Linked DNA regions of Homo sapiens: all the other regions are linked to region 3. The links are contacts of gene promoters, found by promoter capture Hi-C in blood cells and fetal thymus (Javierre and others, 2016). All regions are on one chromosome and are shown on one strand. The core of a region is centred on a gene start or on the middle of the fragment in contact, and the rest is flanking DNA. Distances in the headings are between cores, read along the strand shown. Region 1 has its middle 44 kb from the start of EXTL2. Region 2 holds the start of SLC71A1 (solute carrier family 71 member 1). Region 3 holds the start of GPR88 (G protein-coupled receptor 88). Region 4 has its middle 81 kb from the start of EXTL2.

Region 1 (7,687 bases), core at 959-3,458, 310 kb after region 3:
CACCATGATTGTCAGATACCATTTTTGGTGGTTTACTACCTTACCTAATACAGCTATTTCACTTGTGGCCTTAGTTAATGCTCTATGCATGAACTAAGCTCTTGTAAATATATCCATTTTGATAATGTAAGTTTTCTTTCTGCTTTTCTCCACTGTCTGATTATAATTAGCTGGAACAAGAAATGCTTCTTTAATATAATGAATTTTGCCTCAGTCATAGAAACTGTAAGATAGGACAAAAGAATAGATTTCCTTCTTTCTGCTGCTGAATCACAGATTCTCCTATGTAAGGAATACTTACTTAACCCAACATCTCAGGGATTCATAGATCTGACCAAACATTAGAGTTCTTTGTTGTCTTGTAATATGTATGCTGTTTTGCTGTATATCACTATCAGCATATTTTATACATTTTTAATGTAATTTACAATGCACAATTCCTTAAGTCAAATGTCCTGCACTGAGAACTCCTTCAGGGATTAGTTTTTTTTTTTTTTTCAAATGTGCATTTCTTAGGTTTACTATTTCCTTAGTATATATATTTAGAGTGTGTGTGTATATATATATATATATATATATATGTATATTTTTCTTCCTATTGCTGTTATGGAATCTTTGCTGGAGGTCCTGTGTGATAAAACCTCCAATATGTGGAATGTTATTAACATTTGCTAAAGACCTTTGGATGCAATGCAGAGTTTCTTTTCATGAGAGAATTGTGCAGTGGAAGAGAGAAGACTGCTTTGTGATTATAGCAGTTCTTTAACTGAATTAAGACAGGCAATCATTGGTGTTTCTACTGTGTTGCCAGGGACTTCTATTTATTATCAAGGCATTCTTTTATATTCTGCTTTGTAAAACTGGAAATTCCCTGAGAAATCACCAGGAAAGCTGAATGCCATATAAAGAAAAGAAAACCGAAACCAAGGAGGACAATATGTGGGAAAAAAAGAAGCTAAGACGTTAGAACTGTGCTATTTCCTAAAGATTAACATGTGTTTGAAAGATATAACAATGTTAGTTTTTGGACATAAACATACATATTGTTTGTACTAAGTGTTGCTTTTTCCTAGTCTGTAATCAATGAACAAGCATCTCTTGAATATGTAGTATTTACTTAGCACAGTTTGAGACACTGTGGGATATTCTAAAGAATAATCTGTAGAGCCCTTGCCTTTCAATAGCCTACAATAGAGTAGGAGGAATACAATGGCACATTTAAGCCATAAGACAAGGCAAGATGATACTTAATTACCATAAGTACTAAATTATGAGGTACAGACTATTAGTACTGTAAAATGTACTGGGTTCCCAGAATACTCTCCTTCCTATCTGAGTGGTAGTTACATGGGTATTCTTTTCACAACCTGTTTTAAAACTGTGCACATGTTTTATTTACCTGTTTTAAAATCATAATTCACAATAAAAATGTTAAGTGATAGAAAGAGAAGGAGAAGAATAAGGCCTGGAATAACTGGAATAAAAACTTGTGGGGAAAATATAACTTAAGAATTGGCACAGAAGAGAGAGCAGATCAATACAAATGCAAATGTAGCACAGCTGTGGATGAGTTGGGGTGCAGATGGGTTGCAAGGAAAGAGGGTACCAACTGGAGTGGGCTTGGAGTTTGGGGTGGGTTGTATGGGGTGGTGCAGTAGCTAACATGAGCCTGGACAATTTGAGAGTTAAGGGTTTTGGGGTTGAAGGAGGACCTTGAGATGGAAGTAGAGAAGCTTAGACTGATGTACCAGGTCATCCATATGTTTGGGATTTTAAATTAGGTGAAAGATTGATGACAATGGAATTCAAGAAAAAAATAATGTAGCTGTGCTATGTCTTCTTCACGAAAACAGGATAGGAGCAGGAGTGAGAAAGGGAAGCAGCAAATGAATCATGTAGCAATGAGAGCCTCCTCATCATTACTGGAGAGGAAGAAGTAAATGTAAGAAACACTACAGGTGAGAAATGCTCACGACTATGTAGCTGAGAGGATGTGGGGATGAGCAGGATAAATGAACCACGTATTTTTTGCTCTTGGGAGAATAATAGTGCCAGTGATAGAGTAGTTGGTAGAAACAGTTGGTTAAGAGGAGGAGGTAATTCTGGTCTTTCAAATGTAGAATTTGGAGTGATAATGACAGTAGGGAGTAGCTATATGGGCATAGAACAAGGGCACATAGAGAAATTTTGATGAGCATTTTCAAATGTAAAATACCACAACCAGAAATGAATCCCCATATTGTGTTATATGACAGATATCATAAAGCACCTAAACGATGCTGCTCTCACATCAAAGGCTAAAAATCAAGGTAATTCTCCCTCCTTGAATGTGGTAGCCAAACCCACATATTCCTCTCCCTTTCCATTTCTGACAGTTCCATAAATACCTAAATTCAAAGCAAAGCCTATTTATTTTATCAGGGAGAAAGCAGATGTTCCAGCTGTTGGTGATTTCTGTGCAAGATGAGCCATCCTTACTACATTTTAAATCTTTTTGAACTTGTGTCTTTTTAGCAAACTTGGAGAATTATACTATAGAAATGGAAATCTATAAAACTCCAAAGGGCAGACAGAATTAAGGAGGCAGATTTTGATTCAATAAAGAAAGAACTTTCTAAAAATGTGAATGATCCATAAATGGAAAAAACCTAAGTATATTCCCTCTTCTGGAAATATTTTAGCAAAAGCTTGACTCTGTAGAGATTCTATATATAGGATTCTTACTTTGAGTCAGTGATTGGACTAAAAGACTTCCATGACACTTTATATATTTATTTTCTCCCTCTCATGTATTGAGGCTCAGTGAGGAAAATTTTGAATAATACCAATAAATTTGCTCATTTATTCATCCAAGCAGGTTTGTTTTTCCTATGAGCCAGGAACTGGGCTAGGCATTGGGGATGAAACAGTGAAAGAGACTCTGATCCTTGTCCTCAGTAATCTTGTAGTCTAATAAGGGATACAGTGACCAAAGTGTTAAATGCTAACATCGAAGTAAATACCTGGAACTCAAAGTGAGCATAGCTCACTCTTAAAGAGTCAAAGAAGACCTATCTGAAACATCAACTATTGCACCAAACTGGACTGTTGAAGACAGAAGAGGCTTAAGTCCTTTCTATCAGTCTACTTGCCCAATATTCACTATCTACACACAAAAATTCTATGAGCAAAGCCCATTTTCAGAAAACACAGCCTTATAGAAGGACTTTCAATATGACAGAATGAACTACAGTTTCAGAAATGTAGTTTGGCTTTCTAGAAAACATAAATCCATTTGAGTCTAAAATATTTTAAAACCTAAATAAAATCCTTATCCCCATGAGATGATATGGACAAGTATTAATTGCTTTCTCCTATATTACCTTGACCCTGAACCTCCCCTATCCAGGCAACTAAACTGAATTGTTCCAATGGCCCAAGCAGAGATGTGAGGAAGAAGGGAAGGAGAGGGAATTACAGCACAATCAGAAAATAAATATAACACATTCTTGGCTTTTCAGTTTAAAATGCCCACCTATGTGATAGAAAGATTAAATCAAATACTTGCTGGAGCATTTTCCTCTCTCAGAAGAAAATAACTTAAACCTTTATCTGGACTAAGAGAAGAAAAGGGATATAGTGGAGATGGGAAACAAGATTGTTAAGACATTGACAAAACTCTCTTAGAAAAGATCACCAGACCCTACTTCCCCATACCTCTCCCTCAGTAATTAGCCCCTCGGGGAGATGAGAGCAATAGAATCCTTAGATGAAGTCAAGGTTCTGAGGGTAAATTGAAACTCTATGCTGTATCTCCGATCAGTGCTTTGCAAATTTCAATGTGCATAAAAATTACCTGAGGATTTTATTAAAATACACTTTTAATTGAGTAGTTCTGAAATGTGGCCCAGGAGTCTGCACATTCCCAGTTGATCCTAATGCAGATAATCCATGGTCCACTCTTTGAATAGTAAGATCATGGGGAATTTTTGAAGACAACCTTGTCTCCAGAAATTCCGTCTACCGTCATGGAACAGGCTTAGTAGCAGATGTGGTTGTGTATGTGGGTGTGGGCACCTAAAGCCCAAGGTCACCTTACTGAGCTTCCTAAGAGCCAATAGTGGTGTATGAGAGGAATTAATTTTCTTGCTTTTCAAAAGGGGTGCAGAAACTAGCCAGAGAATTGGCAAGGGGCTCATGGTCATAATGAGGGGACTCCCTGATGAGGGGGAAGCAGTAGGGACCACACCACTATGGTGCAGGTGGGAACAGGGACACCTCTGCAGATGCCATCAGGAAGGTTTGTGCAAGTCTCCATGGGCTAGAACATCTTCATGGGAGCCAATATGAAGGACAGATGCAAGCATGAGCCAGTTATCCTTCCATCACCCCCATCAGAAACCACCATGCCAAAAGCTCCTGGAAATTAAATTTCACATCAGAGAGGAGAGAAGACCCTAACAACTGAGTTTACCCAGAACTGATCTAATTATTTTATCTGCTACTGGGGAAAAAAAAGATCTTAAAATCAAAACCAAGTTGTTACATAAAAATAAAATTATGTTCTTAAATGCTCATACTTATGACCCAAGAACTTCATACTCACTATAGAATATACATAAGAAATTTGATGGTTAATGCTCCCAAATAGTAATTTACATGAAAATTAAAACTACCAGTAAATTACAGGTTTATTTTGAGAGGAGAAAGTGATGTTTTATAGAGTCTCGTATTCCATGTAGGCCCTAGGACAGTACTTTAAAGAGGCTGGAGGATTCAAAACGATTTTAACTTCTTTTGGAAAATAAAAATTTGAAATGTTGTGGAAAAGATGGATTAAAAGTCAATTACATTAAATTAAATTAAAATTTTATCTCAGTTTTTTAAAGAAATAATGCAGAAAGTTAAAAATGAGAAAAATCAGTTCATGGAGAGAAGGAATTGCTATGTTTTGATTATCCACTATGTGCCAGGCATTGTGATGGGCACCCACAATAACATAAACTTGCCCTAATGCTGTCAACAACCCTGTAAATAGATTTAATTCTTCCGCTTTGTAGATGAGTAAATAAAGACTGAAGAGGTTATGTGGTAGAGCCAAGGTTTAAATTCAGGCTTATGTAGTTACAAAGAGTCAAGTTTTTGGGTTTTTTGTAAACGAAGATGAAAGGTCCAAAGAATAATAAATGTTTTGAGATCAAAGATGTGGGATTAGCAATGCCAAAAACTTAGTCATAACACAGTAATAAGAATAACAACTATCAGACAGAGACATGGGGTAAAGAACATGGTAGGGCACGGAAGAAAAGAAAAGGAAAACTGGCATTTATTGATGTCTAGAACTGAACCAAAACTTGAATGTTCATTAATGTTCACAGCAGCAAGAAACTTCATTCCGCAGCCATTCTGTGCGGATCACTTTGGAGGAATAGCTTTGAAAAGATGTGTATTCAACGTATTAAAGAAAAGTGCTCCATCTTAGCCCATCTATTCCAAATGATAATAGCTGATACAAATTGAATATTTATTATATGTTAGGTAATATTTTAAATACTTATATGTATCAATTCATTTAATGCTCACAAAAAATCCTATGAAGTAAGTATAATTATTATTACTCAGTGAACACCTGAGAAACCGGGGCGCAGAGAGTTTATGTCATTTGCTCAGAGTCACACAGCTCAAGAATAATGGAGCCAGGATGTGAACCCAAGCACCAGGCTGCAGTTTCTAGGTGTATTACTGATGCCCTCACTCACTTTCAGTCAGTTATCCAAGCATGGAGCATCAACTATCTTCATAGACCTGCATTAGGCTCTCTGAGGCATACAGAAAAGCACAAGATATGTTTTCTGCCCCAGCTTATAAAATAATAAAATAAACTATATTGATTTGGTGTACCTTTAAAATGTGCGTGTGTGTGCGTGATCATTCCGATGCCTGAAAACTGACTGTTGTGGTTACCTAAGGCCATTTTATGCTGTTCATGAGACAAGAGTATTGTAGGTCCCAACACAAGACTGAATAGATCAGTTCTAGCAATTGGCATTCACTGAGTAATTTATTTTGAACCGATTCGATATGATCTTGTAATGAGAATTATGTTAATTATAATAAATAGTTAAATATATTTTCTTATACATATAACCAAACATATTAGGAAAAAAATACTTGAAAAATGTTTTTCAAATGTTATAAAATAACAGTAAATAAAACAATAACAATTGGAACATAGCCAAATTCACTAGTCTAGCTTTAATTATAATATATTCAAGGACTTTGCATACATATTCACTAATCCATTTAAAATGAGTTTTGAGGAATCACTGACAACTGGAGATAATCCAGATGACTAGAAACAATACTATAGCTTCTTAAGAAAGAGAATATCCTTGGTAATTGCTATCCTTCTATGGATGACATTGCATTTGAGATACGTCATTCAAATATGTATATACATACATATTCGAATATGTATGTATATACATATTTGAATGACGTATCTCAAATGCAATGTCATATATATATGCAACAAACTGGTGATGGAAATATGAACAACATAAGCAAAGTATATCTTTTACAGGACAGGTCATACTGCACAATTAACAATTTCTTTTCAAATTTTCAAATTAATAGGTAAAAGAATGAAGTGTGTGTTGATCACCAAACTTTAGTAATAAAATAGTGCCTCTCAAAAATCATCTTGCAAAGTTTGTGTGAATCTGGATGGAAAATCTCATAAAAAAATAAAATAAGTATATATCCAGTGGCAGGCCTAGTAAATATGTTTTGAGGATAAAACTCAGATATGAGAGATACATTTTCTTTAACTTTTAACTCAGTTTTATTTTCTCCTTCTTTCAAGTGATTAAAAAAACTATTTTCATACACAAATCCAGGTAAACTTAAGAGCTTTGTGTTTAAATTCAAACAATTCATTATTTTTACACCATCCCAAATATTCCTTGGGGTAACATCCAATATCAAAGAAAAAATTTTATAGAATATACCTCGTTTAATCTATGCTTCTGATGAATGGCATTCTAGAATTTTTTAAAGTTATATAAATCTTACATTTTTGAGATAATTCAACTTGATCATGATGTTTCATAACCATTTTGTACATCGTACATTGACAGTTTCAATTTGCTAATTTTTTTAAGGATTCTTACATCTACACTCATTAGTAAAATTGGCCTGTTATTTTTCTTTCTCCTACATTCTTTGTCTGATTATTATCAAGGTTATACTGAACTCACAGAATGTAGTAGAAAATGTTCCCTCTTTTTCTATTTTCTTTGGGAGTTTGCAAAAGATTAGAATAAACTTTTGCTTAAAAATTTGGTAGACAGGTCAACAAAACCATCTGGGACTTTTTTTTATGAGAAGATGTTCAATTACTTTATCAGTGTCTGTAATTGTGACTAAACATTTCTGAAGTTTTACACACACATGCACACACACACGCACACACACTTTTTTGGGGGGGGACAGGGTCCTGCTCTGTTGCCCAAGCTTAAGTTCAGTGTCATGATCCTCCCACCTTAGTCTCTCAATTAGCTGGGGTCACAGGCACATGCCATCATGCTCGGCTAATTTTTAAAAAAAATTTTGGTAGAGACAAGGTCTCCCTGTGTTGCCCAGGCCAGTATCCGACTCCTAGGCTCAAGCAATTCTCCCTCCTCGGGCTCTGAAAGTGTTGGGATTA
Region 2 (7,165 bases), core at 2,070-4,569, 500 kb before region 3:
ATCTTTTACTTTTGGCCACTTGCCTTTCTTTCCAAGGAATCCCACTCCCTTTCAAGGTGCCTCATGAACTGTTTTCATGAACTTTCCAAACATTGGTTTCTGCTTGTTTCTAAGCCTGATTCTTGGCCTTCTCATTAATTTTCAAAACTTCCAATATCCTTCCAAATAATTCCCTTTTGCTTACGTTAGCGAGTACTAGTTTGTTAGCCAGTGTTAGTTTCTGTTGATCCTAACCAAAAAACCCTAACTGAGATATCAGTCTCTTAGCGCAAAGTTTGTGAATACGGTCATCCCTCCATATGAGGAGGGGAGTGGGAATTGGTTGTGGGACTTCCGTGGATATCCAAATCAGTGGATGCTAAAGTCCCTTACATAAAATGGCATAGTATTTGGTTATCATCCTCCCCATACATCATCTCTAGATTATTTATAGTACTTAATACAATGTAATGCTGTGTAGTCATACTGTATTTTTTACTTGTATTTTTGTTGTTTTGTGGGATTTAAAAAATATTTTTATTCTGAGGATAGTTGAATCCACAGGATACTGAGGGCCAGCTGTATTCACAACCCAAATCACATACAAAGCGACAAGTTCATACACAATAGGCCTATTAGAACAGGACTGTTCTCTCTTGTTTATCATTGCAGCCTTTCTAGCACAAAGCCTGGGACATTCTGGACATTTAGTATGTGTTAAATTTCTCTTACTACATTATTTCCAACAGTATTTACTGCAATCTGCAATTACCTTCCTTTTGTTTTGTAACTGTGTCCCCCACTAGAATGTAAGCTCTGTGCAGATAGTGTCTCATTTATTGATGTATCCCTGGCATCTAATAAAACACTGACAACACAAGCACCCAGTAAATATTTTTTGAATGACTGAACAATAACCAGTTCATAAGGCTGATAAAATTGGTATAGCTAGATGAAGTATGATTTTGAGGGACTATGAAAATCAAAGTAACCACACAATAAATTATCAGCCCTCTACTTCCATTCAAAACAAGCTCCTGGGAATTGAATTATGAAATCTATCATATTACTTTCTCTAAAGAACTTCAAGTTGGGTGTCAACTAAAAAGTTGCAGGCGAGGCGCGGTGGCTCAAACCTGTAATCCCAGCACTTTGGTAGAACTGAGTATCTCTTGAGGCCAGGTTTGAAACCAGCCTGGTCAACATAACCAGACTCTGTCTTTACAAAAGAAAAATTAAAATTAGCCAGGCATGGTGGTGTGCATTTGTAGTCCCAGATACTTGAGACGCTGAGGCAGAAGGATCGTTTCGGAAGAGGCTGCAGGAGGCCATGATGGCACCACTGCACTCCAGCCTGGGTGACAGAGTGAGACCCTGCCTCAGAAAATAATAATAGGCCACGCATGGTGGCTCACACCTGTAATCCCAGCACTTTGGGAGGCTGGGGCGGGAACATCACCTCAGGTAAGGAGTTCAAGCCTGGCCAACACGGTGAAATTCCATCTCTACTAAAAATACAAAAAAAATTAGCCAGGCATGGTAGTGGGGACCTGTAATCCCAGCTACTCGGGAGGCTGAGGCAGGAGAATCACTTGAACCTGGGAGCTGGAAGTTGCAGTGAGCCAAGTTGGCACTATTGCACTGCAGCCTGGGCAACAAGAGCAAAACTCTGTCTCAAAAAATAAATAATAAAAAAAGTTTCAAAATGAGAATATATGTTTCAAAACAAGTATAATGAATATACTTATTGATTGGAAAATATAATTAGAAGTATCTATCAGGCTATAAATTGCTTTTCTTCTCCCTTCCATGGAAATTAGTTTTTTTTTCCATTTTTAGTCAGTATGAAAATACAAGGAAAAGGAAATTCAATCAAATTTACTTTTTAACATTTTATTTGGAAATAATTTCAAACTTACAGAAAAGTTGCAAAAACAGTACAAAGAACTCATACATTCATTTACTGTTTTTCCTTTTACCCTATATATTAGTTATTTATAGCTGTGTAACAAATAACCCCAAAGCTTAGTGGCTTACACCAAGTACTTTTCATCTTACACTGTTTCTGAGTCAGGATTCCAGGAGTGGCTAAGCTAGGTGGTCCTACCTCTGGGTCTCTCATGAAGTTGTAGTCAGCCAAAGGCTTGACCAAGGTTGGAGGATCTACTTCCAAAGTGACTCACTCCGTGGCATTTGGTAGGAGGCTACAAACAGTTCCTGGACAACTGGATCTCTCCATAGGCTGCTTGAGTGTCCTGAAAACACGGAAGCAGGCTTCCCCAGGCTCCAAGCCCCAAAATGAATGAAAAAGAGACCCGCAAAGGAAGATGCAGTGCCTTTTATGACCTAGCCTCTGAAGTCAATACTGTCACTTCTGTTTTGATCTATCAAGAGTCACTAAGCCTAGTCTACACTCAAGGGGAGGGGAATTAGAGTCCACCTCTTCCAGGGAGGAATATCATTGAATCTGTGAACATATCTTAGAACTACCATACCTAGTTTCAGTACTTTTAAACATTCGCCATTTTGCTTTGTCCCTCTCTTTTCCCCACCTACATATACATACACATACATGTTACTCCCTAACCATCTGAGAGTAGGGAGCATGCGGTGTATCCCTATCCCTCGTGTTTTTCTCTTAAGGAAAAGGATATTCTATTATACAACACGGTAGTTATCAATATCTAATTTTAACATTGTGATACTTTAAAGTCCACTTCCACTTGTGTAAATTGCCCTTTCTAGCAATGTTCCCATCAAATTTATTTTTAAACAATACAGTAAAAACGTAGAGGGCCACAAAGGGTGACATCGGTCAGGTAAGGTATTTTTTTTGGCAGGGAATAAAAAAGGTCCTGGGTCTAGGGAGGTAAACAAGCGTGAGCCAGCTGAGTTCTAGCGGGGGTCCCTGAACACCAAAAGGACAAGACTGTTTCTGAAACACTACATTATCTCTTAAGTTACCCATTACTTACGGAAAATGATTTTTTACTGTTCCCTTCGGTTCCTGTCTTGGTTAGAACACAGCTGGAGATTGTGTTAATAGCTTAGGACGTCTGTTTCCGTGAGCAGGTAACAACTTTTTGAAACAAATTCCCTCATCTGCTGAAGAAGGGGGACAAAAACGGCCCCTATCGCCCAGAACCGTTGCGAGGATTTAGCTAGCTGGTGACGCCGGAGCACGAAGTTGTACAGGTAGCCAGCAGCACCCACGCGAGCCCGCGGTTACCCTGGCCGCGCGGCTACTGTAGAGTGGGCTGGCGGCGAGCGGGCGGGGCGGTATCACGCGGGAGGGGCGGGGCCCGCTCGTCGGCTGATCGCACGATTGTGACGCGCCGCCGGAGGCAGGCCGGGCCCTCAAGATGGCGGCGGGCGCCCAGAGCGGCTCGGCCCGGCAGTAGTGGTGGGACGGCACTAGCTGCTGGGGCCTGCCGCCCCGGGAGTGGCTGCAGCAGCGCCAGGAATCGAGGATGGTAAAATGACCCAGGGGAAGAAGAAGAAACGGGCCGCGAACCGCAGTATCATGCTGGCCAAGAAGATCATCATTAAGGACGGAGGCACGGTGAGCTGAGTTCCGCGCCGGCGAGCGTCCCTCGGGGCCCCCATCCGGTCTCTCCTTCAGACCCCCACACTGCCGTCTCTAGGCGTCCCGGTGCCTCCCTCCCTTCCCCCACCCTGTCCGAGCTGCCGGTGCCTCGGGGTCGCGGACCCGCATGCCGCCGCTCCGGGAATCGTCCTCCGCTGCTCGGGCTTGCGGCCTCCGGGGCCCGTCCTCTTTCTTTCCCGCACCTGCCGCCCTCTGCTCTGGCCGCCTCTGCAGGCCCTGCGGCCTCGAACCCCACGTGCGCCTCCGCCGCGGGGAGGAATGTGCGGGGCTCCCCCGGCGGCCCGCCCGCCGCGCCCCTCGTCGCCGCAGCCTCGCCTCGCCTTCGCCGCCAGGCCCCGCGGAGCCGTCGCCGCGCTTGTCAAGGGGCTGGGAACCATCCCTGCTCTCCCATATGTTGCTAACGGGGTGGCGTCTGGCGCGGGGATCCCGCTGCGGCCCCGTAGTACGTTCGCTTTCTGTTTCCACGTCTCTCTGCGTCGGTGCTCCGGCTCTGGGCTGCTTACAGTAAACCCTGACCGGAGATGGGCTTCCCTCACTTCCCGGAGTCGGAAGCATGACGGCAGACACCTGGGGCCTACATTCGAACCTGCTAGTTTTCAAAGAAAAGTCATCACTGTGTGTCTTAAGATCAAAAGTATTAGAATCAGTCATGGCCTAAGGATCGGAGGAGGACACTTTGAAGGGAAGAAAGGTTTGCTTTTTAGAAACAGTTGTCATCACAGTAAACTTTATGCAGTGTGTAGTTAACCAGCTGGGGACGTAGGATTTTTAATTGAAAAACAAAACAAAACAAAACTGTTTTATGCTAACATTTCTCCGTTGCTACACTGTGTGGTCTTTGTTGCATCCGCTGATACCGCGTTCTGAAATAGAATGGAAAGGTGATATATATGTTTCACTTACCTGAAGTGTGCAGAAATTGTACCATTAATTCCATTTCTGTTTATATCTTATTGGAGCCGCGATCAACTGCTAGCACAGTAGTAAATGTGTAAGTAGGCCACCATTGAGGATTTGCTGAATTCAGTTGAAAAACGTGACAAAATTTTATGACATTTCAGAACACGGCCCAGTCAATATGCCAAAGTTTAGAAAACTTGAGACATATGTAATGACTTTGGAATATATTTTTAGTTTAACGTTTATTATATGTTATAGCTTTGACATTTATTGAAAAAAAGAAACAAATTCCTCAAGTTCTTTTTATTGAACTTGATTAATTAAAACATTACTTTGATTAGATCGGTTATGAAGAGTCATAGCTCTTTTGACCAAGTAGGTAAGAACTATGTGGGGAGAAAAATACTGTTGCCTTTGTCTACCTTTAGAAAGAGACAATATTTTACATTCTTCATAAAATCTACAAAATAGTGGCAATGAAAGATTGTATTTTGTAAGACCAAGTGATATTTAAGATCAGTATTTTTTACAAAATGTAAGAATGAAACTGATTAAGAAACACAGCTTCCTTTTCCTTGGAAAGTTCAGTTTTATTACCTTTCTTTGGGGTTTTGTTTGATTTGCTTTACAGCAGATGCTTTCTTTCCAAATCCTGTGAGTTTTGGAAAAGATCGTTTTTAAACTTTCTTGTCCTATTATTAAGGTTGTAATTAATTCTTAGCCTGCTTTGGGACACAAAATAAAATGTTTGCACCAGCAATAGGTTTCACATAGAACAAATGAAGACTTTTCTTGAGGGCTGTGAACATGGGGGCTATTATCATTTCTCATCTTTATACACTTAATATTTCATTCTCTATTCTAAGAGCACTGGGCACTCCTTTAGAAAAGGGGCTTTGTTTTGTATGTTTGGATCCCACAGGGCCTAGTATGTGAATTTTAAAGTGATAAAAACACTTCTATTTTGTACTAGCACATTCCTAGATGAATTTTTATTGTAATTTTGTTTATTCTTATACGTAATCAGAGGATATATTTCAATAAATATCAGGGGAATATTTTGCATTATTTGTATTTTAATCCATCCCAGCTTTAAATTTAAAAAGTATAACTATTGCAGTCATAGAAATGATTGTAAAATGGTAGTTGCTTATCTACCTCTCTACTTACAATAGTTCAGACTACTATTATGAACTTTTTTTGTTTGTTTGTTTGAGATGGAGTCTCACTCTGTTGCCCAGGCTGGAGGAGTGCAGTGGCAGGATCTCGGCTCACTGTAACCACCGCCTCCTGGGTTCAAGTGATTCTCCTGCCTCAGCCTCCCGAGTAGCTGGGACTACAGGCACGTGCCACCATGCCTGGCTAATTTTTTATATTTTCAGTAGAGACAAAGTTTCACCATATTGGTCAGGCTGGTCTTGAACTCCTGACCTCATGATTCACCCACCTTGGCCTCCCAAAGTGCAGGGATTACAGGTGTGAGCCACCGTGCCCAGACTGAACATTTTTTAAGAAAGGGGAAAAAATTGCCATTTGATACTCTGTTGTTGTGTGTTTTTTAATTCATCGTATCATAGAATATTTCAGTGCTATTGCTGTTGACCTCAGAGTTTCAGAGTTTTTATAAAGTTCCGCCAATGGGTAGATTCATTCAGTGAGATGTCTGAGGCTCTATGGTCGGTACATGACAGTCGTGAACAGTATTTCACATACCTGGTCAATGGTACTGATTTGATCCCCCTTCTGATTTCTTCTTTTCAACAATGTTAATAAAATTCTTTCCCGTTGTCCTGCTAATGACATATATGTAAGCCTATTTGGCCAGTTTAAATATTTATAAACAAAACTAGTAAGAGTTGTTAATGATTTTTCTGAAAATTAGAGCAGATTAGAGCAGATTTGTAGTTTTCAACGGCTGAAGAAATAAATCCTTCTAAATGAGCCAGATTAATCGTAAGTTACTGATTTTTTTATTGAAATTGTATTTCATTGAATTGTATTTCATTCAGCTGAATGAAAAACAGGCCAGGATAAAGCTAACAAGTAGGCTACCTATGTGAGTAGACACAATTAAGATAAATTACATTAAGGTGTGTGATTTTATATTAGGTGTTTTTAACCTGGGTCTGTTCACCCTGAAGTTGTTTGCAAAATTTTCTTTTGGCTATACATGTTTCTTGGAAGAGTCCCAAAAGGTCCATACTTCCCAAAAGTTTAAGAGCAATTGTTCTGTTTGAAAACAGCATAAGTAACTAAAGAATAAGTTCCACATATTATATTCAGTAAATATTTAATCATATACTGTATACTACTTCACTGATGAAAGTAACCATATTAGTGAATTTGCTTTTAAAGCATCCATATATAGAAATAGTTTTTAGGCCAGGGGCAGTGGCTCACGCCTGTAATCCCAGCACTTTGGGAGGCCAGTGTGGGCAGATCACTTGAGGCCAGGAGTCTGAGACTAGCCTGGCCAACATGGTGAAACCCCATCTTTACCAAAATTACAAAAATGAGCTAGGTGTGGTGGTATGTGCCTGTAATCCCAGCTACCCGGGAGGCCGAGGCACGAGAATCACTTGAACCTGGGAGGCCAAGATTGCAGTGAGCCTAGATCACGCCACTGCATTCCAGCCTGGGTGATGGAGTGAAACTGTCTCAAAAAAAAAAAAAAAGAAG
Region 3 (7,595 bases), core at 1,931-4,430:
GAAAGAAGTAAGCTTGGTGGGAAAGAATCTGTGGGTGACCCATAGGCGAGAGTGGAAGGCAGGAATCAGATGAGATCAATTAGGGAGAGAGAGTAGGGTGAGAAGAGAACCAAGAAGAGAAGCCAGGAACACTATCTTAAAGGAGCCATGACACTGGGGAGCCAGAGACTGAGTCTGGAAGGGAGCAGACAGAGGAACAGAAGCAAAGGGAAACCTGGAGGGAAATGGCACTGAGGAGGAGGGTGTTCTTCACAGAGTCAAAGTAGAGGGCAAGGATTTAGGAGTCACGATTTGCTACTGAGAGGCTACTGTTAACCTTGGCCAAAGCTGTTTCTGTGGAGCAGGGAGAGCTAAGGGCCGTGTGGGTGGGTATTCAATGGTAAAATCAGAAGTAGAAGGAGAAAATGAGCACTTCCATCAGGAAGGGGAAGTGAGCTGTGTGTAGGCACCATGAGAAGGAGGTGAAGTTCCAGGGGAGTTTTATGAGGTTGTGGTGAAATCAGCATTTTTGTAAGTCTGAAGGGGAGCAAGCAGTGGAGAGCAGAGAGACTGACAAGAGACAGCAGAAAGCAGATGACTGATGGGGCAAGTTCCTGCTGAAGGTGGGAGGAAAGAGATGCTCATAAAAGTGAATTACTGTTTCACCGTGGAGAAAACATAAATGAAATCATTTACACTGCCATTCACTTATTAATTCAGTAAGTATTGATTAAGTTTCTACTATGTCCCAGGCACTGACCTGGTGCTGGAAATAAGATAGAAAAAATTCCCACCCTATATTATGTAAGTTCATTAACTTAAAACAAAAGGAAAACCAAATCCAGAAACAAACAAAAATTTGGCCCCTGTCAGGCCAGCGCTAAGGGAGGCATGGTCTTGGAGGAAGTGTGTGTGACTGCCAGGCACTGGAGTCCCTCAGCAGGAATGCTGCTCGTCTCAAAGGCAACACAAAGTGGCAGCTGGGACCAGGGATCCAGAATTTGAATACCCTCCCACCACATTCTATCAGAGAGTCCTTTAGGACTATGTTAATGTGAGAGAAAAAACTTTACTTCAATGGCAAGTTTTAACTATGAATGATTAGGAGAGTCTCCTTTCTCCTGAAACATTGCTCTTAGGGACAGAGTGGAAAAGACTCCTGGACATATGGGCCAGAACTACAATGCATGTTACAGAGAAGAGGTATACGCCATGTGTCATAACTAGAAAGGAGAAATGCAGGCTTGCTGTGCTTAATGCACTCAAAACCTCAATAAGGACAAATGGCAATAGGCAAAAAGATGATGACAAATACTCATCTCATTTACATCAGTAAACTTGATATCGAAACCTTCAACCCTCTGAATAGCAAGTCACTGGTTCTTTTCTTTCACTTCCCCCTCCGGCCCCTGCCCCTGCCCCAACCAATTTCATTCAGATATAGCTTAGCTGGACCAAATCTATCAAGTCATGCTTATCCTTAATCCTCATCAGAGTTCTTGAAGTCATCAACTAACCATATTGATTTTGAAATAGAAAAAGAAAAGCAGAGAAGCTGTGTTTTGACCTCTCTCCTGAAACATTGCTCTTAGGGACATATGACCCAGAACTACAACTGCAATGCATGTTAGATAGAAGAGGTATATGCCATGTGTCATAATTAGAGAGAAGAAATGCTAAATTCATGAATAGGGATTCACAGAAAGTTTTAACAGAAAGGGCCTTTGAAGTGACTGACTGTGAACTTATTTGACAAGATGAAAATAATCCATCGCAAGGCTACATGATGGATGCTCGGCTTAGTATCTGGGTGTGCTGCAACCCCACCTAACATTTTTTTCTATTATGCCATGTTACCATATTCCCATATTGAGTTACATTTTCAAATACATGACTTTTCCAGTGAATAATTGAGAGAACTCCTTTTCTGAAAAAATTCCCACATGGAATGGATAAATGAACACTTGCACCAAAGAAGATGCCAACATCAGACTGCAAATCTCCAAGACAGACAAGACAAAAAGTTCTGAAGTGAAAAGTCATCTTTGTTCACACTGTGGATTATTCAGGTTTCTTGCTTTCCCCCTGACACACATTTTTTTAAAATTGACTTTATTTTTTTAGAGCAATTTTAGATTCATGGCAAATTTGAGTGAAAGATACAGAGATTTCCCATGTACTCCCTGCCCCTCGCATACATAGCCTCTCCCATTATCAAAATCCCCCACCAGAGTGGTTCGTCTGTTACAATTGAATGTACGTTGACACATCATTCCCCAAAGTCCATGGCTTACACTGATGTTTCACATTCTGCCACTTTGGGCAAATTTATAAGTACACAGATCCACTATTATGGTATCATACAGAGTAGTTCCACTGTCCTAAGAATCTTCCGTGATCATCTATTCATTCCTCCTTTCCCCCTAACTCGGGCAACCACTGGTCTTTTTAACTGTCTCCATAGTTTTGCCTTCTCAAGAATGTCATAGTTGGTAGCATACAGTATGTAGTCCTTTCCAGTTGGCTTCTGTCACTTAGTGATACACACTTAAGGTTCCTTCATGTCTTTTCATGGCTGGACAGCTCATTTCTTTTTAGCACTGAATAATATTCCATTGTCTAGATGTACCACTGACATCTGCTTTAAATCTTTTGCCCATTTCATTTTTACCCTCTAACCATTTCATTACTAAAACACAAAACAAACTCCGGAAAGGAGTTTGTTGATGAGAAAACACTGAAAGTACGATTTAAATTGAGGAATGGAGATTTTCTGTGGATAATTGTCTATGTTCCACTTTACCAAAGAAAAATGAATTTCAAGTAGTGCATAAAGTAATTCTCGTTAAAAAATGTGGGAATAAAGAGATCAGTCCTGGGTACTGGGAATATATTTATCTCACAGAAAAATCTTGCCCACAAAATGCATCAGACTGAGATGAAATACTCTAGGGTATATTAAATTTTATTCTAATATTGAAGGGAGGGAAAAAAAGGACGGAAAGAAAAATGAAACAGGATGAAAAATAAGGTGATTGGGAGAGAGAAAAGACAGAGAAACTTGTTAACGACAGGACTTTCTGAGCAAGATATTTTTCTTCCTTTTACAAGTTGGAAGCTATTGAATAATTCATGCCAAGCGTGGAAAGGCTGTCTTTTCCCTGGATGATGTATAACTAAGCAGGAGAGAGCTTCGAGTGGGTTCACCACATCAGCCACCACTCCTGCTTCTGAGCACAGGGTGCTCTCCTCTTGAGCTCAGCTTCTGCTTTTGCAGCCAAGCATTCTTGCTGCTGCTGCCTGCCTGCCCACCCGCCTGGGCTTGCAGCCCGCCACTTTACTTTCTCCAGCCCTGATACCAGCTGAGAAGTCTCCCTGCAGCTGCTAGTTCCTGCCCAGGACCATGTGTGTGGATGCTGCTTGGGAGAAGCGGGCACTTGCTCCTGGCACTGATCCCAGCTGAGTTTCTCCTGTTGATTTCTGGACCACTGATGCTGTTGCTGAGGAGGTATTTCCCGGCATCCCTCCCCCTGAGACACCGGCTAAGGACCAGCCTAAACGCAAGGTAACCTTCACCTCTTTCCCATGGGATTTTCCCCAGCTGGGATATCTCTGCTTTCTCCTGGAACTAGGTCCTCCAGCTGGCAACATATCTCTCTCTCTCTCTCTCTCTCTCTCTCTCTCTCTCTCTCTGTGTGTGTGTGTGTGTGTTGGGGGAGAAGAGGAGACTGTTTTAGGTATTGCTCTGTCCTAGGGCTTCCCCGATACCTGCTGAATCCAATGCAAAGTGGCCTTTCCCCTGGCTCTGGAGACATTTCCGAGGCAGGCACCTGTCATCTGCCACCCCCGTCCTCCTCCTCGAGCTCCCTTTCTCCCCCTCCCCCAGCCCATTATTCTGCTTCAGCCTTTTGTGTCAGTGGCAGAGGGCTGAAGGGATGTCTTTGCCCTTCTGGCAGGCAGGACAGTGTCAGGATGGACCGCGCTGCCAGAAGCCGACGCTAGCGAGGGAGGTGTGAAGAGTTGGCCAGAATGACCAACTCCTCCTCCACATCCACCTCCTCCACCACCGGTGGCTCGCTGCTGCTGCTCTGCGAGGAAGAGGAGTCGTGGGCGGGCCGGCGCATCCCGGTGTCACTCCTGTATTCGGGCCTGGCCATCGGGGGCACGCTGGCCAACGGCATGGTCATCTATCTCGTGTCGTCCTTCCGAAAGCTGCAGACCACCAGCAACGCCTTCATCGTGAACGGCTGCGCCGCCGACCTCAGCGTCTGCGCCCTCTGGATGCCGCAGGAGGCGGTGCTCGGGCTCCTGCCCACCGGCTCTGCGGAGCCCCCCGCAGACTGGGACGGCGCTGGGGGCAGCTACCGCCTGCTACGGGGTGGGCTGCTGGGCCTCGGACTCACGGTGTCCCTCCTCTCCCACTGCCTCGTGGCCCTGAACCGCTACCTGCTCATCACCCGGGCGCCCGCCACCTACCAGGCGCTGTACCAGAGGCGCCACACGGCGGGCATGCTGGCGCTGTCCTGGGCGCTCGCCCTGGGCCTCGTGCTGCTGCTCCCGCCCTGGGCACCGCGGCCCGGCGCCGCGCCACCGCGAGTCCACTACCCGGCGCTGCTGGCCGCCGCGGCGCTGCTGGCGCAGACAGCTCTGCTGCTGCACTGCTACCTGGGCATCGTGCGCCGCGTGCGTGTCAGCGTCAAGCGGGTCAGCGTGCTCAACTTCCACCTGCTGCACCAGTTGCCCGGCTGCGCCGCCGCCGCCGCCGCCTTCCCGGGCGCCCAGCACGCGCCGGGCCCCGGTGGCGCCGCGCACCCGGCGCAGGCCCAGCCCCTGCCGCCCGCGCTGCACCCGCGGCGGGCACAGCGGCGTCTCAGCGGCCTGTCGGTGCTGCTGCTCTGCTGCGTCTTCCTGCTGGCCACGCAGCCACTGGTGTGGGTGAGCCTGGCCAGCGGCTTCTCGCTGCCGGTGCCCTGGGGAGTGCAGGCGGCCAGCTGGCTCCTGTGCTGCGCCCTGTCCGCGCTCAATCCGCTGCTCTACACGTGGAGGAACGAGGAGTTCCGCCGCTCCGTGCGCTCAGTCCTGCCGGGCGTCGGCGACGCGGCGGCCGCTGCCGTTGCCGCCACAGCCGTGCCCGCAGTGTCCCAGGCGCAACTGGGCACCCGCGCCGCGGGCCAGCACTGGTAACCTAGCCGGGGCCCGAGGGAAGCGGAGATCCCCGGCTTCCGACGTCCTTGGGCACCGTCGCCTCCTTCCCTCCTAGGGCATCCCCTGCCTGAACGAAGACTTCCGCCGCGAAGCCCGATAGATCGGGGGAAAATGGGGCCTTCGACCCCAGCGGGCTACCTGAACCAAGGCGTCTCTTTAAGTGGGGCGCCCGAAGTCATTTTGGACGGCCACCTGATTTTTACCCTTTGTTTCTGTGTTTTAGAGGAATCCTAAAGTCAAAACACCAGAGACTTGAAGAACTTGCAAACTGGCGTTTTAAAATAACCGGTTAATTTATTTCCACACAGTTTGTTTTTGAAAAAGAGCTTTCATAATGTATAACCCTTTCCACTTTCATCGTCTTATATATGAAGCGCCTTGAGTGTGCATGAACCAAAGGAAATAACATTGAAGAAGGAAAACAATATGTAGAAAGTATTTTAGAAAGTAACCTGTCTTTGATGATGCTTCTCTTACCATTTAGTTTTTGTATATTACCCTGGGGCAGTGAAGCCCTAGGTGTGCCCACCAGTATGAGTTGCCATTAAGACCTCAAGCCCTTTATTCTTAAAAGGGTTTTTAATAAAGTCTTTCTCAAATGAGGTAGAATCTTAGCCAGTGAGAAAAAAAATTATTTTATGCTCCTTTTTTTTCGCACTCTTAAGACTGAAAATTGGCGTTGAGTGTTATAGTGAAAATTTTCCAGTTTGATAATTGATGGTCAGAGCCAGCACTGGAATTTTGAAAACAAATAAGGTGATTATCTATTTTAGGTACCGTTTCACATTTTCTATAGCATGCACACTTGTTGCTACCCTCATTTTGTAACCAATTTATTTGCCTTATGAATGTGATTGCAGCTTTGAACATTCTGTACTATAATGGTTGCTAAGAAGAATAAGTCCTTCTGTTTTCTCTTTAACATTTAAAATATCTCAATGCACATGATATAATTAAACACTAATAATACCATGACTGCATAGCTAATATTAGCTGCTATTGCATGCTCCTAGATGCTAGAACTTATTGGGCATGTGGTATACTGAAGCAATACCCGTTAGACAAGGATATTTTACTTCTTCCAGACACCAGAAGAAATGGCCTTCAATTATTTGAAAAGAGACACAGAGACACCTCTGGCTACCTAGAGTTCTTCCTGTCTTGACCCAATTTATGAGAAAGCTCCCAGTTGGGACTTTATCTCACAAGTGGAATCACAGTCAAGACGGATCAATAATATGGTTTGGCTCAGCAAAGCCAGCTGTGCTCTTTTAGGGTTTAAACAAGCCACACGTTAGAAAGCAACACTGTTTTTATGTAGTTCATATATATTACCATGACATTTAACATCAATATCGTATATGTTGAAGGAGGTATAATAAACTCAGTCATATATAGTGAACAGTTCAAATGGGAAAGTGTTCTAAAACATATTATTTGAGATTTGTCATATTCATCTTTGGTTTACTAAATTTACTTAGAAATATTTGAAATGCAAAATTGTGTGAAATCACCTTATCAAATTAAAATGGGAAGAAAGTAATTTTAATAATTTTTAATAATCATATGTCAGCATTCTGACTACTTACCACATCAAATCTGGGCCCAAACAGCCTCAGTTAACTGCATAATTCAGGAACAAAACCAGCTTGCTTTGTTGCACGCCTGGGCAATTTCAGCCAGGACATTAGGACCACTTGTTGTACATCTGAATAATTATGGAAGTTGGGACATGTTAAGGAAAACAAATATGTTCATCACCAACAATCAGCTGTCATTTTATTAATCTATCCCTTTTGTGCATGCACCATTTCTCTCTTACTAACAGTTTCATCTGTTCACATTTTCCTTGATTCAAATATTAAAGTTCAGACAACTATTCTGAGTTTTTTTTCTTCTGTCTCTGGTTTCCTTGCATACCTCCTTGAGAACGTTGTAACAGAGGATATGGTATTCCAAAGCACTAGTGATGAAAGTAACTTCTTCTTGCTGGCTTTATCTAATTTTAGTTTGTACAGTTATTTCTACTTTATATAATTAAATAAGGCCCACATACCAGCATCAAAGAGAAATAGGTAAAATTTCCTTTCTGTAAGTGTTGGGGAATAAGTTACAACAACAGAGAGCTGAGAATTTTCCTTTTGGGGTGGGGCTGGAGGGGGGATGCTTTTCTAAGTCTCTGTCAAAAAGGTCTTCTTTTAATTAGAACTTTATCTCTGTTTCTCACTGTAAATGGCTGTGAATGACTTCCCCCGCTATTCCTATAAACATCTGCCACGCATATGAAGTCAGCTTTCCAAGTGGTATCTTGATATCTTGCAATGTTTCTGGCTAGCACTGAGAATCATCTTATACTGGCTCCATGCCAATGGGAGACCTACTTTAGCTTAATTTACTGGTAATTAACTCCA
Region 4 (6,940 bases), core at 689-3,188, 270 kb after region 3:
TCTCCTTACTGCTGAATTTTAGGGCCATACCTCAGTGGGACTGCAATGCAGCAGCAGTCTTCTTTGGCTTGCACCCACACACTGAGCTACTCTATCCATCAACTAAGGGTGGCTTTTTTCCTCTTCCACCAGGTGTCATAAAGGAATCTCCACTCTTGTGGCTATACATACAAGCTAAGGATGACAGCCCAGGCAGCAGTGTTCAGTGATATGTGAATCTGTGGCACTTGTTCATGCAGCTACTTTTGTCCTCTGGCCTACTCATGACTGCTTCCAGATACAGCATTTCCATCTTAAATGAATACTGGTGCTAGACCCACCAAATCTTATGACTTTGTGAATCTGACAAAACTCAACTTATGATAAGCAGCTCTGGACACATGGTTACTTGTTGCCTCCCAGTCAGGCCCTCTGTCTCTACCAGTGTGCCTGGTAGCATGCCTGGAGTTGTTTTCTGAATTGTTTATAATTCTTCTTGGCTGATGGCATGAACTTTTTCTAGAACCCTAGGGTTCTACATGATGATTCTCCTAGCTTTAGTGGAACAACCCACCAAAATAGGATTTTAAGGATATAATAATATTAAGGATATTTTATAGATACGTCTTTCAATCCAAAAAATGCACATAGGTGGTAAGCTTTTTTACTGGATAGGTAAATCACAGACCTCATATTTTATACTTTCACAGGAGCTGGCCACTTTAGCGTTAGTATTTCAATGCATGGATAGTATAATAAACATTGCATTCGAACTTTTTCACACTTTTTAAAGCTTATTTTACATAAGTGTCTAATATTATTTTCTTTTTTCTTTTCTAATCCCCCTTCTCTGATTCTATTACCCCTCACTACCACTACAACTATCACCATTATACATATATGTCAAATGGGATCTGAATGCATAGTTCAATCCTGAATTTATGCTTCTGCAGTGAGAAATTGGTTTGCCTTTTTGTAATTAACATAGCAAGTGTCATGACAATTGAATGTTATTGGTTAGGTGATGTTCCTTTCTTTCCATATACCTAAAGTATGATGGTTGCTATAACAACAGAACAAGGAGTAGAAAGCATGGCTTTTAAACAGATTTCTGACACAAAAGGGACTTTCAGGACAAACCTTCAGAAAAGAGCTCATAGATTTAACTACTTAAATTATTGGGTATTTGTAGGAATATAGGCTATGACTCTATTCCAGAAATGTGCAGGCAGTAATCAGTCTGTCACTAAGGGTTGAACACTCATAGCTCTATTCTAGCCTTGTAATGTCAGAGATATTTTGTACAGTTTGATGGAATTTCAGTGATTCAGTATAGATGGATCTCCGTTCATGTATGGGAGTGAGAATTTCCCTAAGTGCTCTTTGGAGGCTTCTAATAGGATGAAATGAGAAGAGGGATTTTATTGCTAAATAGGCTTCAAAAAGAGATGATTCTTCTAGTATGGTAGAAATACAGAAGAGTTTATATTTACAGCATCAAAGAAGTTTCTTGTTCTGTGATGACTCTGAAACTGTGTTCTGTGCTGATTTTCCCATTCATAGTTTAGAACATGAAAATATATGTAGTATTTATGTATTTGAAGAAAACACAATTTATTCAAGGGAATAAGTAGACATTTGGCACTAAAATATAAACATGATCACTCATTTGTAAAGCAGACCACTTGATTTCTGGAGATTACTTTATGTCCTTTTCATGCAACTTAGAGATCACAGCCATTACTTTTTTTCTCTTCAATTACTGACAATAGAGGTGGATTTGCTAAATCTTTAAAGTTATTTATTTTATTACTTCTCAGCTGCTCATGACTGGCAATAGAAGATCAATCGTGCAGTCCAGTAGTGGATAAGAGATATTTATATAACTTATAAATAACAAGATAAGAAAAATTTTTTAAAATTTGTATCATATTCTGAGATAAAATGGATATAGTATCATCTAATACATAGCTGGGCACATAACAAATGCTCAATAGCTTTCAGTAAATTGATTGATAAAGTAATTTATTAAATAATTAACATTTCAAAATTTTTCAGCTCCAACTTTTTTTGTAGAACTTTGAGTAATGGAAAAAGCAGAATTTACTTCTTTAGAATCTCCAAATGCCTGTTCAGGAAGGGAATGCTATACATTTAGATAACAATGGAGTTTTAAGCAGGGGAATGGCATAATCAGATATATATTTGTAAAGAGAAGGCAGACAATTATTGGTGTTGGAAGAAGGGAAGGCCAGAGGCAAAGCAACCAGATAAGAGCCTAGTCAAGATGAAAGAAGCTCTAAACTAAAGGGTGGCAGTAATACTGCAGAGGAGCAAAAGGACATGGAGAAAATAAGGGGTAGAGGATGGGTAGAAAGACAAAGTGTTCATGGAAACTGCCAGAAAATGAAATCAGCAATGAGTCCCAGATATCTAGCTTAGGCACAAATGTGGAGAAAGGTATCATTGATCAAGGTGGAGAAAACAAAGCAAGATATTTTAGGAAATACAATATGAGGCATTTTCGATATATTAAAATAGAAAATCCAAAAAATAGCTGAAGAATGCAGGTCTAGTGCTCAGAAGGTATCAAAACCAGGAATATGGTAAATAAAGGAGCAGTGGAATAAAGGTATGTGGAGTTGTAAGAGATAAGGCCCAAGAATAGGGAAGACTAACATTTTAAAGACATATAGAAGATGAAGAGTTTATTTAAAAAAAAAAAAAAAAGGACTGAAAATGTGTGAAGAGAGAGTTAAGAGCAAAATCAGAAGAAGATGGTGCTGTGGAAGCTGAAGCAAGAGAGAATATCAGAAGGACATAGTCCATGGTGTCCTTGCTAGAGACCTAGACACCCAAATACAAGAACCATGAAGAACACCTGGGAAATTCATTGCAAAAAAATCATTGCCTAGGCACATTGTCATCAGGTTTTCTAAAGTTAAGATGAAGCAAAGAATCTTAAGAGCTGTGAGACAAATGCACCGGTAACCTATAAAGGAAAACCTATCAGATTAAGAGCAGATTTCTCAGCAGAAACCCCACAAACTAAAAGGGATTGGGGCCGTATCTTCAGCCTCCTTAAACAAAGCAATTATCAGCCAAGAATTCTGTATCCAGTGAAACTAAGCTTCATATATGAAGGAAAGATACAGTCTTTTTCAGACAAATGCTGACAGAATTCACCACTACAAAGCTACCACCACAAGAACTGCTAAAAGGAGCACTAAATTTTGAAACAAATCCTGGAAACACATCAAAACAGAAACTCTTTAAAGCATAAATCTTACAGGACCCATAAAACAAAAATACAATTTAAAAAGCAAAACAAAAAGCCAAGGTATACAGGCAACAAATAGCACAATGAATGGAATAGTGCCTCATATCTCAATACTAACAATGAATGTAAACGGCCTAAATGTTCCAATTAAAAGATACAGAATTGCAGAATGGATAAGAATTCACCAAGCAACTATCCGCTGCCTCCAAGAGACTCACCTAACACATAAGGACTCACATAAACTTAAGGTAAAGGGATGGAAAAGACATTTTGTGCAAATGGACACCAAAAGTGAGTAGGGGTAGCTATTCTTATAACAGACAAAACAAACCTTAAAACAGTTAAATATATAGCAGTGATAAAAGACAAAGAGGGGCATTATGTAATGATAAAAGGCCTTGTCCAACAGGAAAATATCACAATCCTAAACATATATGCACCTAACACTGAATCTTCCAAATTTATGAAACAATTACTACTAGACTAAGAAATGAGACAGACAGCAGAACAATAAGAGTAGTGGACTTCAGTACTGCACTGACAGCTCTGGACAGGTCATCAAGACAGAAAGTCAACAAAGAAACAATAAATTTAAACTATACCCTGGAACAAATGGACTTAATAGATATATACAGAAAATTCCATCCCACAACCTCAGAATATACAGTCTATCCAACAGTGCCTGGAACTTTCTCCAAGATAGACTATATGATAGGCCACACAATGACCCTCAATACATTTAAGAAAATTGAAATTAGAAAGCGCTCTTTCAGAGCACAGTGGAATAAAACTGGAAATCAACTCCAAAAGGAACCTTCAAAATCATGCAAATACATAGAAATTAAACAGCTTGCCCCTGAATGATCATTGGGTTAAAAATAAAATCAAGATGGAAATTAAAAAATTGTTTGAACTGAATGACAATAGTGACACAACCTATCAAAACCTCTGGGATACAGCAAAAGTGGTGCTAAAGTTCATAGCCCTAAATGCCTACGTCAAACAGTCTGAAAGAGCACAAAGAGACAATCTAAGGTCGTACCTCAAGGAACTAGAGAAACAGGAACAAACCAAACCCAAACACAGCTGAAGAAAGGAAATAACCAAGATCAGAGCAGAACTAAATGAAAGTGAAACAAACAAACAAACAAAAAATACAAAAGATAAATGAAACAAAAATTTGGTTCTTTGAAAAGATAAACAAAATTGGTAGACCATTAGCAAGATTAACCAAGAAAAGAAGAGAGAAAATCCGAATAAGCTCAATAAGAAGTGAAGTGGAAGATATTCCAATTGACACCACAGAAATACAAAAGATCATTCGAGGCTACTATGAACAACTTTGTGCACATAAACTAGAAAGCCTAGAAGAGATGGATAAATTCCTGGAAAGACACAACCCTCCTAGCTGAAATCAGGAAGAATTAGATACTCTGAACAGGCCAATAACAAGCAGCAAGATTGAAATGGTAATTTAAAAATTACCAACAAAAAAAAGTCCAGGACCAGATGGATTCACAGCAGAATTCTACCAGTGAATCAGTGCCAATCCTATTGACACTATTCCACAAGAGAGAGAAAGAGGGAACCCTCCCTAAATCATTCTATGAAGCCAGTGTCACCATAATACCAAAACCAGGAAAGGACATAACCAAAAAAGAAAACTACAGACCAATATCCATGATGAACACAGATGCTAAAATCCTTAACAAAGTATTAGCTAACCAAATTCAGCAATATATCAAAAAGAAAATCCACCATGATCAAGTGGGTTTCATACCAGGGATACAGGTATGGCTTAACATACGCAAGTCAATAAATGTGATACACCACACAAACAGAATTAAAAACAAAAATGACATGATCATCTCAATAGATGCAGAAAAAGCATTCGACAAAATCCAGCAATGCTTTATGATTAAAACTCTCTGCAAAATCGGCTTACAAAGGACATACCTCAATGTAATAAAAGCCATCTATGACAAACCCACAGCCAACATAATACTGATTAGGGAAAAGCTGAAGGTATTCCCTCTGAGAATTGGAACAAGACAGGGATACCCACTCTCACCACTCCTCTTCAACACAGTACTGGAAGTCCTAGCCAGAGCAATCAGACAACAGAAAGAAAGAAACGGCATCCAAATCAGTAAAGAGGAAGTCAAACTGTAACTGTTTGCTGAAGATATGATTGTTTACCTTGAAAACCCTAAGACTCCTCCAGAAAGCTACTAGAACTGACAAAAGAATTCAGCAAAGTTTCCAGATACAAAATTAACGTACACAAATTTGTAGCTGTTCTATACACCAACAGTGACCAAGCGGAAAATCAAATCAAGAACTCAACCCCTTTTACAATAGCTGCAAAAATAAATAAATAAATAAGTAAATACTTAGGAATATACCTAATCAAGGAGGTGAAAGATCTCTACAAGGAAAACTACAAAACACTGCTGAAAGAAATCACAGATGACACAAACAAAGGGAAACACATCTCATGTTCATGAATGGGTAGAATCAGTATTGTGAAAATGACCATATTGCCAAAAGCACTATACAAATTCAATGCAATTCCCATCAAAATACCACCATCATCCTTCACAGAATTAGAATAAAAACAATTTTAAAATTCATATGGAACCAAAACAAAGCCTGCATAGCCAAAGCAAGACTAAGAAAAAAGAACAAATCTGGAGGCAGCACATTACCTGATTTCAAACTATGCTATTAGGTCATAGTCACCAAAACTGCATGGTATTGGTATAAAAATAGACACATAGACCAATGGAACAGAATAGAGAACCCAGAAATAAACCCAAATACTTACAGCCAACTGATCTTTGACAAAGCAAACATAAAGTGAGGAAAAGACACCCTTTTCAACAAATGGTGCTGGGATAATTGGCTAGCCACACATAGAAGAATGAAACTGAATCCTCATCTCTCACCTTATACAAAAATCAAGGACTTAAATCTAAGATCTGAAACTCTACAAATTCTAGAAGATAACATTGGAAAAACCCTTCTAGACATTGGCTTAGGCAAGGATTTCATGACCAATAACCCAAAAGCAAATGCAATAGAAACAAAGATAGATAGTTGGGACTTAATTAAACTAAAGAGCTTTTGCATGGCAAAAGGAACAGTCAGCAGAGTAAACAGACAACCCACAGAGTGGGAGAAAATCTTCACAATCTATACATCTGACAAAGGACTAATATCCAGAATCTACAAGGAACTCAAACAAATCAGCAAGAAAAAAACAAACAATCCCACCAAAAAGGGATAAGGACATAAATAGACAATTCTCAAAAGAAGATATACAAATGGCCAAAAAACACATGAAAAAATGCTCAACATCACTAATGATCATGGAAATGCAAATCAAAACCACAGTGTGATAACCTTACTCCTGCAAGAATTGCCATAATCAAAAAATAGTACATGTTGGCATGGATATAGTTAGCAGGGAACACTTCCACACTGCTGATTGGATTGTAAACTGATACAACTACTATGAAAAACAATGTGGAGATTCCTTAAAGAACTAAAAGTAGAACTACCATTTGATCGAGCAATCTCAGTACTGGTTATCTACACAGAGGAAAAATCTCAGTACTGGTTATCTATCCACAGGAAAAGAAGTCATTATATGAAAAAGATACTTGCACACTCATGTTT

The links. The method cuts DNA at HindIII sites, captures the fragments that hold promoters and counts their contacts. A CHiCAGO score of 5 or more calls a contact.
Region 1: a fragment that was not itself captured here is called in contact with the fragment with the promoter of GPR88 in region 3 in 6 of 17 cell types (megakaryocytes, M0 macrophages, M1 macrophages and 3 more); the score reaches 10.5 in megakaryocytes.
Region 2: the fragment with the promoter of SLC71A1 here is called in contact with the fragment with the promoter of GPR88 in region 3 in 1 of 17 cell types (monocytes); the score reaches 6.2 in monocytes.
Region 4: a fragment that was not itself captured here is called in contact with the fragment with the promoter of GPR88 in region 3 in 1 of 17 cell types (M2 macrophages); the score reaches 5.6 in M2 macrophages.

The regions. Positions count from the first base shown.
Region 1 is chr1:100,846,725-100,854,411 of GRCh38, forward strand. No RefSeq gene overlaps it. Among named protein-coding and RNA genes, the nearest start is that of EXTL2, 44 kb to the right of the region's middle. The HindIII fragment of the contact is 954 bases long and covers 1,732-2,685 here.
Region 2 is chr1:100,034,776-100,041,940 of GRCh38, forward strand. It overlaps SLC71A1 (solute carrier family 71 member 1), which reads left to right and starts at 3,320. Exons shown (of 12, transcript NM_033055.3): 1 at 3,320-3,541. The coding sequence starts at 3,458. It overlaps LOC124904230 (a long non-coding RNA gene), which reads right to left and starts at 3,233. Exons shown (of 7, transcript XR_007066251.1): 1 at 2,955-3,233. It overlaps SLC35A3 (solute carrier family 35 member A3), which reads left to right. Exons shown (of 8, transcript NM_012243.3): 8 at 1-859. RefSeq lists enhancers at 2,792-3,394, 3,357-3,636 and silencers at 3,117-3,296, 3,757-3,946. The HindIII fragment of the contact is 6,938 bases long and covers 2,002-7,165 here.
Region 3 is chr1:100,534,959-100,542,553 of GRCh38, forward strand. It overlaps GPR88 (G protein-coupled receptor 88), which reads left to right and starts at 3,181. Exons shown (of 2, transcript NM_022049.3): 1 at 3,181-3,544; 2 at 3,936-7,063. The coding sequence starts at 4,009. The coding sequence ends at 5,163. RefSeq lists enhancers at 3,605-4,454, 3,903-4,302, 4,455-5,303 and a silencer at 4,573-4,742. The HindIII fragment of the contact is 8,214 bases long and covers 11-7,595 here.
Region 4 is chr1:100,810,791-100,817,730 of GRCh38, forward strand. No RefSeq gene overlaps it. Among named protein-coding and RNA genes, the nearest start is that of EXTL2, 81 kb to the right of the region's middle. The HindIII fragment of the contact is 2,337 bases long and covers 771-3,107 here.